Regions from separate parts of the Homo sapiens genome. Here all the other regions are linked to region 1. Evidence: promoter capture Hi-C in 16 types of primary human blood cells and fetal thymus (Javierre and others, 2016). All regions are on one chromosome and are shown on one strand. Each heading gives the region's core, a stretch centred on a gene start or on the middle of the fragment in contact. The rest is flanking DNA. Distances are from core to core; before and after follow the strand shown.

Region 1 (3,667 bases), core at 670-3,169:
ATCTTGGAGCCAGATGAGTGCCTTCAGGCCTGGATCACACATAGTGGAGTGAATGGACCACTTGAAACAATCATGAGAACCATTGTGGCCATGCCTCTGCCAAGAGCTGCTGACGTGTGCCCTCTGAACTGTGCCTGGGAGCTGCCTACCTTGCACTGTGTGTTCTGCCTGCTCTGCCCACGCACAACAGGACCTCCAGCTGGGCCTAGTGGCCAGAGACGCTGACTGCACAGTAGCCCTGTTTTGGTGTCTGGAAAGGTTTTGTAGCCAGAAAAAAAATGTGTGCTCAAGCCTTTCCCAGCTATGCTGCTCAGCTCTCTCTCTGACCGCAGCCCCTTCAGGACCCAGTTCCAGGGAATCACCCCCAACCCAGACCACCTGCTCCTCCTTCTCTTGGCCTCTGGGCCCTGCATCAGGAGCACCCTGCCAGAGCACTGCTCCTCTTGGACACTCATTCTAGTCCATTTTCCCAGACTTCCTCTTGTAGGAATTCTGGCCTTCCCACAGCTGGGCTAGGACTCTTGAAACCATGCCCCAGCTCTCCCAGCCCCTCCCATGCTCTTATTTTTTCCTGTTGCTGGCCCCATGCGCCCTTCTCCTTGAATCGGTGTCTTTTCCTATAAGGGGGTTTTCTACTCCATGTTTTTCCCTAAGTTTACCACCCCCTTCCTGCAGCTGCTCCCCCGCCTGGACCTGGTTTGCCTTTTCAACAGGTGCTTTTAAGTCATGAGATGCTGTAGTCTCAAAATCAAGCCTGCATCAGAATCATTCTAGTTGCTTATCAGTGTGTTGAATCCCAAGCCACACCCCCACCCCCAAGAGGTCTGAGGAGACGAAGGTGAGCCTGGGAATTGGCATGTTTAATAAATACACTCCAGCACCCACCCACCTGCTGGCAGTCACAGGCAGGTGGTCCAAGGGTCCTCTTGGAGAATACCATGCAGCAGCCACTCCAGTGGGAAGCCCGAAGCCTCCTTTCTGCCATGGTCTGGCACATGGAGGTTTACTGAATACTTGATGAGTGAACGGATGACAGATAGGAGAAGATGAGGATGACATGTGGAAGTGTTCTGGCCACTCAGGAGATAAAGGAACAAGATTCAAGTCGTTAGAAGCCCCTCACTGAAAACCCTAATAAGGAGAGGCACAAGCTTTCAGATTAAGTAATAATCATTTATAGTCATTTAATCTAGTAATAATTAGAATAATCTACTATGTGTTAGATTTTAAAAGTTTTCAGTGGCAGCCCAGTGACCAATCCAGCCTGGCAGACGTTTTGTTTAGCCAACAGTGCTTTGACAAGGTCTGATCCGACATTTTAAACTTGGGAGATTTCACAGAAATCCAGACTTTTTGCCTGTCTTGGGAAAGTTAGGAGTCCTGCAATAATGGACCTGCATTTCACTTGTAGCAGTTATTGGTTGGAGCTGCCATCACTGCATGCTTAGGATGCAGTAAGCTGCATCCAGTTTGCCGCAGTCCCCAGCACCCCCACCAAGTGTGGACGTGGGCACCCACAGCTGGTATTACAGGACCTGGGGACCCAGCTGGCTCCTGGAGGGGGTCTGTGACTTCAGATATATGAACACCGATCCTGGGGGTAATTTTTGTCCCATCTATTTTTCTAACTTAACAGAATTATCTCCATCTTACAAGAAAAAGGGTCAGAGGGGTGTCATGAACCCAATAGCTACTGGACTGAGATTCAAGCCCAGGCCTGCCTGGAAACCTGGGCTTTTTAATTCTCAGCCAGACTGTCTGTCTCACTGCCTCACTTCCCACCCTTTCATCCAGAACAGCTCTCCCTCAAAGTGTCCCCTGCATGCTTTGCCTGAAGTACACTGTGACTTCTTTGTTATGTCACAGCTTAGTCACAGTTGGGCTGAGAGCAGAGCATGGCCCAGCCTGCCAGGTCCCATGGGGCAGCCCTGCCAGCCCAGCCCAGGCTGGCCCAGCTTAGCCACACATGCGCCATGAAGTACCCTTTGATGCCGCTGGTGAACGACCTCACATTTTCTTTCCTGGTTTTCTGGTTCTGCCTCCCTGTGGGTTTGCTGTTGTTATTGATCATCTGGCTACGCTTCTTACTTAGCCAAGGTGAGCTTCTTACCCCGTCCAGGCAGGACCCTAATCCTGGAGCTAGGCAGGGGGCCAAATAGGCCAGTGTGTCCTGAAACAACTGCAGAAGGGGCTTCCTTCAGTCATTTTAAGTGCTCGCTTAGATACAAGCAGTCAACTCTTAAGTGGAAAGGATTGGTTTGGTTGTTTAGGGTTTCTTAACCTAGAGTTCGAGAGTGAGTCCTAGAGTTTGAACCTAGAGTTCGAGAGTGAGTCCTAGAGTTTGAACCTAGAGTTTGAGAGTGAGTCCTAGAGTTTGAACCTAGAGTTCGAGAGTGATCTTTTGAACAAATCAGAGGTTATCGCTCCAGGCAGATGAACTTCCAGGTGCCCCTTTCAGCTGGGGTGCAAGGCTCTGTGAGCAGAGCGTGGGCTGGATTTCAGCCCCGCTCACCCTCTCAATTGGCTGCTTTTGTGCAGTAAACAGCTTGCACGATGGGATACAGCAGCCTTAGGCATTTTTCAGATACCTGCAGACCACTCACTGTTTCTGCCTAAGCCATGTATCAGAAAGGATCTGGCTGCTTTGGGAGACAGGCTCATGGAAGCCAGCTGACATTCACCCTGACCTCAGCATGCCACCAAGAGGAGCAAGAGGTGGGACGAAGCTGGCTGTGGAGGAAGCTGGGGGTGGCTGGATCAGGATATGGCCTGGCTGTGTGGCAGGAGTGGGACTTCTGCTCCTCTGGCATGTGTCTCCCTGAGCATCCCCTTCAGCAAGAGGTCTCTTCCTGCTGGACACAGTGGCTCACACCTGTAATCCCAGCACTTTGGGAAGCCAAGGTGGCCAGGTTGCTTGAGCCCAGGAGTTTGAGACCAGGCTGGGCAACGTCCCTACAAGGAATACAAAAATTAGCCAGGTGTGGTGGCATGCATCTGTGGTCCCAGCTACTGAGGAGGCTGAGGTGGGAGAATTGCTTGAGCCTGGGAGGTCGAGGCTGCAGTGAGCCGAGATCACACCACTGTATTCCAGCAGACAGAGTGAGACCCTGTGTCAAAAAAAGGCCTCTTCGTGGGGACCACTTGACCTCCTACCTCCTGCTGCTGAGTGCCATGACCTTTGGCAAGCTAGGCAGGGAGGGCGCAGCACATGCCGCCAGCAATGGTCAGATGTTGTTGAGGCAGGGTGAGAAGTCCCTCCCCACACCCCTGCTAGCCCCATGATCTCAAATGTAGGGGCTTATAATTATGTAATTATTGGGAGTTCCTGGCAAGAACTTGGGATGTCCTTTTGTTTCTAGAAAGTGTTTATTTAAAGTATATTCTCCTCATAGTCCTAGGGTAGACCACAGCCCTCCCTGAGGGGCACGGTTTAGGCATTGGGCCCCACAGCTGGTAGGGAGTCAGCCTTGTTTGCATACTGGCGATAAAAGTTGTCTCTCTGGAGTCTGGAAGATATGAGTTCAGATATCATCCTTTTTTTTTTATTTTTATTTTTTGAAACAGAGTCTTACTCTTGTCAGCCAGGCTGGAGTGCAGTGGCACAATCTCGGCTCACTGCAACCTCTGCCTCCTGGCTTCAAGCGATTCTCCTGCCTCAGCCTCCCAA
Region 2 (3,667 bases), core at 649-3,148, 480 kb after region 1:
TTTATGGTGTGTAGACCTTAAACCCCCAAAGCCTTTTTGGTTTTATAAAAGCACAGAACAAAGTCATTGAGAATGATCAAGGATCGAAACCATGGGAGAAATATAAAACTATATTTTCTTAAAATGTGGTCATTGAAACACCTGCATTGGAATCACTGGAGATATATAAAAATGGAAATTCCTGGGTGCCTCCCAGATCTACTGAACCAGAATCTCTGAGTCTAGGGGCCAAGGGATCTGCATTTAAAAAAATGTCTTGAGTAATTCTTCTGCACATTCTAATCTGATCCTTTGTATTTGCTGTTCCCTCCACCTGGCATGCTCTCCCTGTAGCTCTCTCTTTGGCTCCCACTTTCAATCCTTTAGATCTCTGTTCAAATATCCTTTCCTCAGAGGGGTCTTTCCTGCTATCTTACCTAAAATAATACCCCTTGCATTCTCAATACTCTTGCTCTGCTTTATTATGTTATTATTTTTAGCTACATGGATGCTAACTATATGTAAATAAATAATATATAGTGTACAATATAGATAACAATACATGATAAAGCCATTTAATCCATATCAGCCTTATCAATGTGCTTATTTGCACCTTTTGGTCTGCTCCCTGAGAGGCGAAGCTCTCGGAGGGCAGGGCTGGCCTGCCTTGCTTAGGGTTGCACCCTCAGTGAACTGTATTGGGTCTAGGAGAGGTTGATATGGGGGAGGGGATGATGCATGCAGAGTGCCCAAGGCTTAGTGGGTGCTCAACATAATGACTGTATCCTAAGCGTGGTGTATACTATGAAAACAAAAAGCCATAAGCTTCCTTGTTCTGGTAGTAATTCCCTACCCCTCCACCCTAAGGACCAGTGAAACTGTTATGAGAGTGACCAAGAAGAAACGTCTTCTCTTGTCCTCTTCAATGTCTGAATTCTGCATCCAGCACATTATCTTCGGTGTCTCCCCCATTTACTTCCCTCGCCTTCTTCCTTAAGGAATATCAGCAATGATAATCCCAGCGACTGGCCAGGCACGGTGGCTCATGCCTGTCATCCCCGCACTTTGGGAATTGAGGCGGGAGGATCACTTGAGCTCAGAAGTTTGAAGCTGCAGTGAGCTATGATCGTGTTGCTGTGCTCCAGCCTGGATGACAGAGCGAGACCCTGTCTCAACAAAAAACAAAAAAACTCAGAAACTATAGGTACTGGTAGACATGCTAATTTCACATCTTAAGTAGACTCCTTAACTCTTTCTGTTGCACTGGCTCTCAGTCAATTTTGGGGAAATCTCTCTGGGAGGGGAACTCTCAGGTCCAAGGCTGGCAAAGGACCAATTGAGTTCCTCTTCTGGAGGACTGGGTGACACAGACACTCAGGTCACTGTGTTTGCCCTGAAGGTGGATGGCAGATGGGCTCCAAAGATGCTGGGGTACAGATCCCCTCTGCCTTTGGTAAGAGGCTGGGGAGGTCTGGCCCTGGTGGAGCCCCCAGGCTGGGACCTTTGGACCAGAGCAGCTTCATTTGTGTACCCAGTGAATCTTACGGATTTTATCACATTCTCTGTGTGCCATAATGTGAAGAACGTTGGGAAGCATTGGTGTAGGTGCAGGGGTGAAGGCAGTTGCATTGGGCCATGAGGCCATCTGTGCTTTGTTTGCTGGTCTTGGACCAGCCTCTGTTTGTGAGTATGAGCTTGTCTGGGCCTCTGTTTCTTCAATCAGTAGCACTGTAACCAGGACACTACAGCAGATATAGCCCAGGAAGGGGCCAAGGGTCTTGAAAGGGCAGAGGCAGTGGAGTGGGGACGATACAGGGAGTCTGAACTGGGAAGGGCCTTGCTAAGAAGAATGTGAAGCCTAAGGTGAGACAAGAGATTATTCGAGAGCTTGGAGCATTGATATATGAGTTGGGTATGATTGTCCCTATGTTTCAGACAAGGAAACCAAGGCTCAGAGTAGTGGAAAAGCTCACCACAGTCAACGGCAGAACTAAGTGGGCCTGAGTGCTTTCTTTTCTTAATGCTGCCCCTTGTAGCTCAAGGAAATTTGATGAAGAGTGTTTTGAAACTTCAGCTGGCTCTTGACAAGTGTTTGTGTGACATTTTGGTGGGAGAGATGGAGATATGTCTGCTGGTATTTGGGACAATTGGGTACATCGCATCAGTACCAGTGGGAATAGAGCAGCCTTGACATTTCACCATCTGAGGAATGGCAGGAGGACTGAGACCATTCTGTCGGAAGAATAGAAAACTTAGAGGGTGCGTTGAGTTGAATAATTTGCCCCAAAAGATATGTCCACTGAGAACTTGTGAATGTAGCCTTTTTTTTTTTTTTTTTTTTTGAAAAAGGAATGGCCAAGCACAGTGGCTCAAACCTGTAATCCCAGCACTTTGGGAGGCCAAGGCAGGCAGATATCCTGAGGTCAGGAGTTTGAGACCAGCCTGGCCAACATGGTGAAACCCTGTCTCTACTAAAAATACAAAAATTAGCCAGGTTTAGTGGTACATGCTTGTAATCCCAGCTACTTGGGAGACTGAGGCAGGAGAATTGCTTGAATCTGGGAGGTGGAGGTTGCAGTGAGCTGAGATTGTGCCACTGCACTCCAGCCTGGGCGGCAGGGTGAAACTCTGTCTCAAAAAAAAGAAAAAAAAAAAAAGAAAAGAAAAAAGAACAAGAAAAAAAAAGATAAAAGGAGTTCTTGCAGATGCAGTTAAACTAAGGATCTTAAGATGAGATCATTTGGGATTATCTGGGTAAGCCCTAAATGCAGAAGAGGAAAAGACATAGACAGAGGAGAAGCTGCTGTGGAGACAGAGGCAGAGACTGGAGAGGTGCAGCTGCAAGCCGGAAATGCCAAAGACTGCGGGCGGCTGCAGGAGCTCAGAGACAGGCATGGGACAGGTTCTCTCTCGGACCCTCCAGGAGGAACCAATCCGGCCAACACCTCTATTTTGGACTGCCCTCCTTCTCAGAACTGTGTGAGAAGGAGAAATGTCTGTTGTTTGACATCACCAAGCTTGTGGCCATTTGGTACGGCAGCCCTGGGGAACTCATACTGGGGGGTAGGATGCCGTCCTCAAAGAAATGAGGGTTGTCATGTGGAAGAGGGACCCTACTCACTCTGTGTCCCTGGAGGAATGTGAGCTTTCCTCTGAGCTTCTAGGTCCTTAGGAAAAGGGCTCCGTACAGTCAGGGGGTTCAGGGATGGAGTGGGCTGCACTGGGGAGGTGTGAGTACCCCATTACTGATATGCCACCAGGGAGTTTCAACTGGCATCTGTTGTGTAGTTGAACTTGACCATTTGTGAGGCCCCCTCCAGCCCTGAGAATCTATGCACTGGTGCAAAGAAAGAGGTAAATGTTTAGAGAGGTGACAGAGGACCTAGAGCTAATGTCCAGGATGCTGCCCAGGGGCCTTAGAGATGGTGACAATGGTTGGTGGGGATATGGGTCTGTTGGAGAGGAGGAAGAAGAGGAAGAGAGCCTGACTGCCAGGCAGGCAGGGGTATCTTTGGGGCTCTGGGAGCCCCAGCCTCTGGATTCTGCCCTCAGTGAGCTTTGCAGGACACCCTACCATACCCCCTCCCTGCTTTCTTCTGATAGAGTCGTTTCCATTTGGATATTGCCTTGAACATGATGTTCACAATCCCCAAAGGGAAGAACATCCCTCAATAAGCCACACAATTCT
Region 3 (3,667 bases), core at 829-3,328, 450 kb after region 1:
CGTCAGTCCTCTATGCAGAGAAGCCGCCTCGCTGGTAAGCTCATCCTGCTGCTTAGCCTGTGCCTGCTTTGAACAGGGCCATGTTCTTGTTTTTCTCCTGTACATGTTTCTTGACATCGCCTCTAGAATTGCTGCTCTGGGCCGGGCGTGGTGGCTCACGCCTGTAATCCCAGCACTTTGGGAGGCCAATGTAGGCAGGTCACCTGAGGTCAGGAGTTCAAGACCAGCCTGGCCAACATGGTGAAACCTCATCTCTACTAAAAATACAAAAATTAGCCAGGCGTGATGGGCACGTCTGTAATCTGAGCTACTCGGGAGGCTGAGGCAGGAGAATTGCTTGAACCTGGGAGGCAGAGGTTGCAGTGAGCTGAGATCACACCACTGCACTCTAGCCTGGGTGACAGAGTGAGATTCCATGTCAAAAAAAAAAAAGAGAATTTCTGCTCTGGCAAAGAGCTTCTTAAGCAAACAGTGATATTTGTCTACTCACTCATCCACTCAGCAAACGTTCATTTTCAACCACTGACTGGATGCTTAGCCCTGCATGAGGCACAGCTATGCAGAGATGAATTGGGATCCCAGCTCACGGTTCTTTTTTTTTTTTTTTTTTGAGACAGAGTTTCGCTCTGTCGCCCAGGCTGGAGTGCAGTGACGGCGCTATCTTGGCTCACTGCAACCTCTGCCTCCCAGGTCCACGTGATTCTCCTGCCTCAGCCACCTGAGTAGCTGAGACTATAGATGTGTGCAATCACGCCTGGCTAATTTTTGTATTTTTAGTGGAGATGGGGTTTCACTGTGTTGGCCAGGCTGGTCTCCAACTCCTGACCTCAGGTGATCCACCCACCTCGGCCTCCCAAAGCTCTGGGATTACAGGCATGAGCCACTGTACCCGGCCCCAGCCCACAGTTTTGACATAGGGACAGACACAGAGTCAACTACCTTAGGGGAAGGGCTTTACTAGCAGCATGGATGAAGTGCTGGGCTCAGCACATCATGTGCCAGTGAGAGTCAGGGCAGGCTTCATGGAGGAGATAACATTCATTCTGAACCTGGAAACAAGAGTGTTCAGTCAGAAAGGACCCGGAGGGTATTCTAGGTAGAGAAGTAGCAGGGGCAGAGCCATGGAACATAAAGGAACCTCATGCGTTTGGGAAGTGGGGAATCATTGGTATGGGTGGCCCATGCAATGGTGCTGCTCTGTAACACTGCCTAGGAAGAAAGAGGTAAGCACAGAAGTCTAGAGTAGGCCTTTAGACATCTTTATAACATTTCAATGGTTAAGTTTATGTTTGTCCAATTTAATAATAAAAATTGGGGGCTTATATTTTTCTTGTTTACAATTTCATTTTTCTAGAATTCATTTATATTGTATTTTACCAATAAAAAGTACTGATTAAAAGTACTGATCAACCATGGATTGGATTTTGTTTTTTTGAGACAGTGTCTCACTCTGTGTTTTTGAGACAGTGTCTCAATCTGTTGCCCAGTGGTGTGATCTTGGCTCACTTCAATCTCCACCTTCGGGGTTCAAGTGATTCTCCTGCCTCAGCCTCCTGAGTAGCTGGGATTACAGGTGCATGCAACCATGCCCAGCTAATTTTTGTATTTTTAGTAGAGACGGGGTTTTGCCGTGTTGGCCAGGCTGGTCTCAAACTCCTGACCTCAGGTGATCTGCCCACCTCAGCCTCCCAAAGTGCTGGGATTACAGGCGTGAGCCACTGTGCCTGGCCCAGATTGGAAATTTTAAAGACGACAACAACTTGTCCTTCTCCAATTGGAAGATGGAGAAGCCCTGGGAAAAAGGGTGGGGTGTGTGTGAAGAGAGGGAGAGAAGATAGCGGTAGATTTGAAGGCAAGAAAGTCTGTGGTCAAACACTTTGTACCCTAGAATTGCAGCTTTCAAAATGTGGTCTCCAGCCCAGCATCAGTATCACCTGGAAACTTGTACGAAATGCAGCTTCTCAGGCCATGCCAAGTCCCATTCAATCAGAAACTGGACTAGGGCCTAGGACTCCATTTTAACAAGCCCTCCAGATGTTTCTTTTGGGCAGTAAAGTTTGAGTTCTGTTTCCCTAGACCAAGGAATCGGATTTATCCTGTAGCCACTGCAGACCTAGAAGTTGCTTAGGTTGAAAGCACCTTGGTCGGTTCTGGGTTTAGAAATGTTACCCAGTGACCACACTAATGTGGTCAGGATACGCACACTCGTGTGCAGGATAATTTGAAGAGTGCCCACGCCTGTCATCTCAGCACTTTTGAGAGGCTGAGGCCAGAGGATTGCTTGAGGTCAGGAGTTCAATACCAGCCTGGGTGCCATAGCCAGACCTCAACTCTCAAAAAAAAAATGAGCCAGGCATGGTGGCACGTGGCTGTAGTACTAGCTACTCAGGAGACTGAGACAGGAGGATCGCTTGAGCCCAGGAGATTCAGGCTTCAGTGAGCCATGATTGCACCACTGCACTCTAGCCTGGGTGACAGAGCGAGACCCTGCCTTTAAAAAATTTTTTTTTTTAAATCAAGAGAGATGCAAAACCTCAATTTTAGATCCTTTTTTTGCTGACTTTTGGGTGGTTAAATTTGGGAGTTGCTTAAAGGAGAAAGGCTTTTCTTTTTCTTGCTTCATTCCTAAGGAGCTCTGAAGGGCAAAGAAAGGTTGGGGAAATAGAGCCAGCCTGAAGCCATGCCATACCATTCAGGTGGCAAAGAAAGTGCCCCCCAGTCACGGCCTCTTTGCAGGGGGGGCCCTTCTTTTTCCTTTGATCAGCTGAGATTCACTTACTGGTTTTTGAGGGGTGGGGAACCACAGTATGGCTGGTATGTTTATAACATGGGAAGCCCTGAATTAACACTTTGGATGTTTCAGAAACTGATATCTACTCATATGCACACCTAAAATCAGGGGACTGGATGTTATGCTCTTGGCTCTTCGGTTGTCTATTACCTGAGCCTTAGAAACATTTTTTCCCTTAAATAAAGGTATAATTTATTTACAGTGCAAGATGAGTTTTGACAAATGTGTATACCCATGTAACCTGGACCCACATAAATTATACAATATTGTTATCATTTTAGAAAATTCCTTTGTGTCTCTTTACAGTCAGTTCCCAGCCTCTTTCAGAATCAGGCAAGTCTTTGCCTCCATTTCTGCATTTTCTAATAAAGTCATTAGGCTCAGTTCAGAGTTCTGTAAATGCAGATGAAGGATCCAGAAAGGTCCTTCGCGGATAACTGAGATGTTCCAGAAGTCATTGAGGATTTAGAGTCTCATCTGAAAAATGGACACACCATTACCCAGCACTTAGGTCTTGAGGCTGTGGTGAGCAACATAAATGCATGTGTTTAGCACAGTGTCTGGCACATAGAGTAGAACCTGTTAAAGGTTAAAGGAAACAGCATGTCTACCTGTGGTTCCTGACTGTCATCACAAGAGGGGGAAATTAGCTCATGTTTCTTTCTCATTTCAGGGTCATCTATAACGAAGTTATACAGACCTCCAAGTACTACATGAGAGATGTGACTGCCATTGAATCGGCCTGGCTGTTGGAGCTGGCTCCACACTTTTATCAACAAGGAACGGTAGGAATGAACTGAGTCTGTGCCCCAGCCACCTGTTCACAGCCTCTCCATGTTTTTAAATGTACTTTTTTTCTCCAATTTAATGCCCTAT
Region 4 (3,667 bases), core at 653-3,152, 410 kb after region 1:
AGGGCTCTATAGCCACAGGTGGCTAGTGGCTTATGCATCGGACAGTACAAATAAGGAAAGTTTTCATCATTGCAGAGAGTTCTTTTAGACATAGGTACTGTATATTGTGATTTGTTATGAAGCTTAAGTAAGATAGCAAAAAACTTTTAGGTTGGTGCCTGGCATAGGGTCACAGCTAGACTGTGAGGTTCTTTTGTGCAAATTAGAAAAAGATGTTCCCTCTGGGAGGATGTCTAGAGCTAGGTGGGAGGCAGGTGGACCGGATTGCTGAAGCCCCTAGCCCCCTCAGCCAGGCATCTTTGCACAGTGGGTACACTGTGTACCTGTATGCAGGGCCTCTGGGCTAGCACATAAGTTAGTCTGTATTAGTTGTTATTATTATTATTTTCATTGTTATTTTATTCCATTGCCAAAGATTTAGATTTTTTGATACTTTAAGGGAATTATTGTACCATGTTATTACCTTTTTCAGGAACGGTATAATAAGAGGGCCGATTTCACTGAATCTTTGCCAACACTGAGTATTAGCCTTAAAAAAATAAATCCTTGCCAATGGGATAGATGGGGAAAAAAAAATCTCATTGTTATTATATATCTTAGCTGTAGCTCATTTGGTCACTTCTCCAATGCCTGTTGATTATGTGTTTCTTTGAGTAACTGTTAATATCTTTTATCTCTTTTTTTTTTGCCATATTTCTGTCTTGGTGTTATCATTTATTGTTTGTTTGCTTTTAATATACTTTTTCATACATAGATTCAAACTATCTTGAGACCCAGGTGTCAGGAAAAAATGGTTTTATTCTCAGTAAATTCAAATTTGGGTCTTAAAGCTTCTTTATAGTTTTTATAATTTAAAAAAATTTACTTTGGAAAATTGCATACATTTACAAAATTGGAAGTAATAGTGTAATGACCCCCCCCCCCCTTTATTGACAATTATTAATTTGTAGTCAGTCCTTTCATCTGTAAGCTCCCTTACCTCCTCCTCAGGCAAAAAAGAAAAAAAAAGACACTGAATTTTTGAAATACATTTCAGATATCAAATGATCTCATCCATAAGTGTTGCACTATTATCATTATTTCCAAATGTCTTCTTTTTTAGATTCAGAAAAAGCGAGGGGATCTTCGATTGATTGTAGCTTCAGCCACTCTGGATGCAGACGTAAGAGCCTTGCCTCCCCTTTCCTCCTCTCCTCACAAACACTTTTGTCCTATATATCCTTGGGAAGTTACCTCTAGCAAGAGCTTATCTTTGGCAGAATGCCCTATCTTCTTTATGGGACCATCTGATGTCCTAGATTTCATATAATCAGAGGTTACTCCTTTTCAGCTTGTGAAATTAGACTGTAATTAATTGAGCTCATAATTACCTACCTGTCTTGTTTATCTACATACTGTCTTTCTCCCCACTTACACAGCTTCTTTTTGTTGTTTTTTCAGTATAAGCCTGTATTTCTTGAATTTGTTTATTTATGACTATACTGTATAGATTTAGATTTTTCTGTGCAATTGAAGTTTCTCCTGGGCTGGGCACGGTGGCTCACACCTGTAATCCCAGCACTTTGGGAGGCTGAGGTGGGTGGATCACTTGAGGTCAGGAGTTTGAGGCCAGCCTGGCCAACATGGTGAAACCCCGTCTCTACTAAAAATGCAAAATTAGCTGGGCGTAGTAGTACATGCCTATAATCCCAGCTACTTGGGAGGCTGAGGCAGGAGAATTGCTTGAAACTGGGAGGCAGAGGTTGCAGTGAGCTGAGATCGCTCCATTGCACTCCAGCTTGGGCAACAAGAGCAAAACTTCATCTCAAAAAAAAAAAAAAGTTTCTCCTGTATATATAATAATTTCCATGTTAAAGTTTTCTGTGGCTAGGTTTACATTATTTTTCTCTCTTGTGGACCTATAGTTTAAACAGCAGCTCAACTCAACAAATACTTTTGACCACTTACTATATTTACATGCAGAAATAGATGTTTGCAGTTCAGTGTGTTCAAAGTTCTGAGGCAGCTAAGGAGGGAGCCCTTAACTCCAGCCAGCTGGGGGGTGTCCAGAAACTTTCGCAGAGGTGGTGACCTACCAGCTGTGCTTGAAAGATGGACAGCCGTTTTCCAGATGGATGAAGGTGGGGAAGGGCACCCTAAATATAAGTGAAATCACAGGGACATGACCATGAGTTCATGGAGCTTCGAGTCTTATCTTACCTGCCAGGCCCTCATGGGTGAATTACCCTTGAACTCCCTCTCTGACTTTATCTTCTTCCACTTTCTCCAGTGCTCCCTACATTTCAGCCTCACTGGTCTCCTTGCTGTTCCTCAAAACAACCCAGGCATGCTTCTGCTCTGGAGGAACCCTCTTTTTAGACCATTCCTTCCCCGGACAGCCTAAGGTTCTCTCCTAATTTCATTCCAGTTTTGAGCATTTATTATCTCCTCAGAGAGGCGCTCTCTAAAACAGCACCCCAGTTGCTCTTTATTCCCTTATTCTGATTTTTTTTATGTTTCTCACTTGTCTATCACTATTTAACATTATATGCATTGTTTATTGTGTGTCTCCTGTCACTAAAATATAAGCTCCATGAAGATCAGGACTTTGTCTTATTTTATCTCTTCCACCTAAAACAATGTCTAGCACAGAGTAGGCACTTGGGTTGAATGAATTTTGACTGACTGGGAAGTAATGGAAGATTAAAATGGGGAGGTTGGGGTCAGATGACGGAAAGCCTTAGAGGCTCAGCCAGAGAGGATGAACTCCATCCTGTATCTGGTTGGGAGCCATGGGAACATGTGAGAGAGGGCAGTGACTTCATCATGTTTGAGCTCTATAAAGATCATTCTGAGTGCTGTGTATAGGAGATGAGAGTAGATATGGAGTCTCTAGTAAGGAGGCCAGTTCTGAAATCCAGGTGAGATGTGGTCCCTGGCTCCTGGCTCCTAGTCTCCCTGTGGCTTCTGGGATACAGAACAACTTGGAGAGAGAGAAAGCTTACCATAGCGAAGGTAAATGTCCAACGTGTCCCGAGACTGGTTTCTCAGACCTTTCCACAGGCTGTAGGAGTCTGTTGTTTTAGGTCTGCCCATGGTAACTTTTGGGTTAAAGCTCCTCTGTTGCCCTGTTTAATTGTCATCTCCCTCACCCATGGTATCTGCTGGCATGCTATTTTGTGGACTGTGGCTGACTTCACCTCTAGTTAGCTCCTCTGTGGCTACATTACACAGAACATCTGTATCTCTTTTTCACCCCCCACCTTAAAAATTATTAAATTAAGTTAAAAATTATTCCAGTTTTTATTATGTTGAAAACTATAATGTCCAAGTCTTTTCTTAGATTCATTTTATTTATTTATTTATTTATTTATTTATTTATTTATTTTTTGACACCAAGTCTCACTGTCTTGCCCAGGCTGGAGTACAGTGGTGTGATCTCAGCTCACTGCAACCTCTGCTTCCCAGGTTCAAGTGATTCTCGTGCTTCAGCCTCCCAAGTAGCTGGGACTGCAGGCATGAGCCACCATGCCTGGTTAATTTTTGTATTTTTAGTAGAGATGGGGTCTCATCATGTTGGCCAGGCTGGTCTCAAACTCCGGACCTCAGGTGATCCTCCCGCCTTGGACTCCCAAAGTGCTGGATTTACAGGCATGAACCACCACGCCTGGCCAGATTCATTGTTAAT

The links. Contacts are between HindIII fragments. The CHiCAGO score rates a contact against its expected background, and 5 or more counts as called.
Region 2: a fragment that was not itself captured here is called in contact with the fragment with the promoter of ADIG in region 1 in 1 of 17 cell types (naive B cells); the score reaches 6.8 in naive B cells.
Region 3: a fragment that was not itself captured here is called in contact with the fragment with the promoter of ADIG in region 1 in 1 of 17 cell types (naive B cells); the score reaches 5.7 in naive B cells.
Region 4: a fragment that was not itself captured here is called in contact with the fragment with the promoter of ADIG in region 1 in 1 of 17 cell types (naive B cells); the score reaches 5.3 in naive B cells.

What each region holds. Positions count from the first base shown.
Region 1 is chr20:38,579,278-38,582,944 of GRCh38, forward strand. It overlaps ADIG (adipogenin), which reads left to right and starts at 1,920. Exons shown (of 3, transcript NM_001393816.1): 1 at 1,920-2,097. The coding sequence starts at 1,974. The HindIII fragment of the contact is 6,378 bases long and covers 1,150-3,667 here.
Region 2 is chr20:39,054,424-39,058,090 of GRCh38, forward strand. No RefSeq gene overlaps it. Among named protein-coding and RNA genes, the nearest start is that of DHX35, 94 kb to the left of the region's middle. The HindIII fragment of the contact is 2,192 bases long and covers 803-2,994 here.
Region 3 is chr20:39,030,742-39,034,408 of GRCh38, forward strand. It overlaps DHX35 (DEAH-box helicase 35), which reads left to right. Exons shown (of 22, transcript NM_021931.4): 20 at 1-34; 21 at 3,465-3,576. Among named protein-coding and RNA genes, the nearest start is that of DHX35, 70 kb to the left of the region's middle. The HindIII fragment of the contact is 9,869 bases long and covers 1-3,667 here.
Region 4 is chr20:38,993,719-38,997,385 of GRCh38, forward strand. It overlaps DHX35 (DEAH-box helicase 35), which reads left to right. Exons shown (of 22, transcript NM_021931.4): 8 at 1,103-1,162. Among named protein-coding and RNA genes, the nearest start is that of DHX35, 33 kb to the left of the region's middle. The HindIII fragment of the contact is 2,149 bases long and covers 829-2,977 here.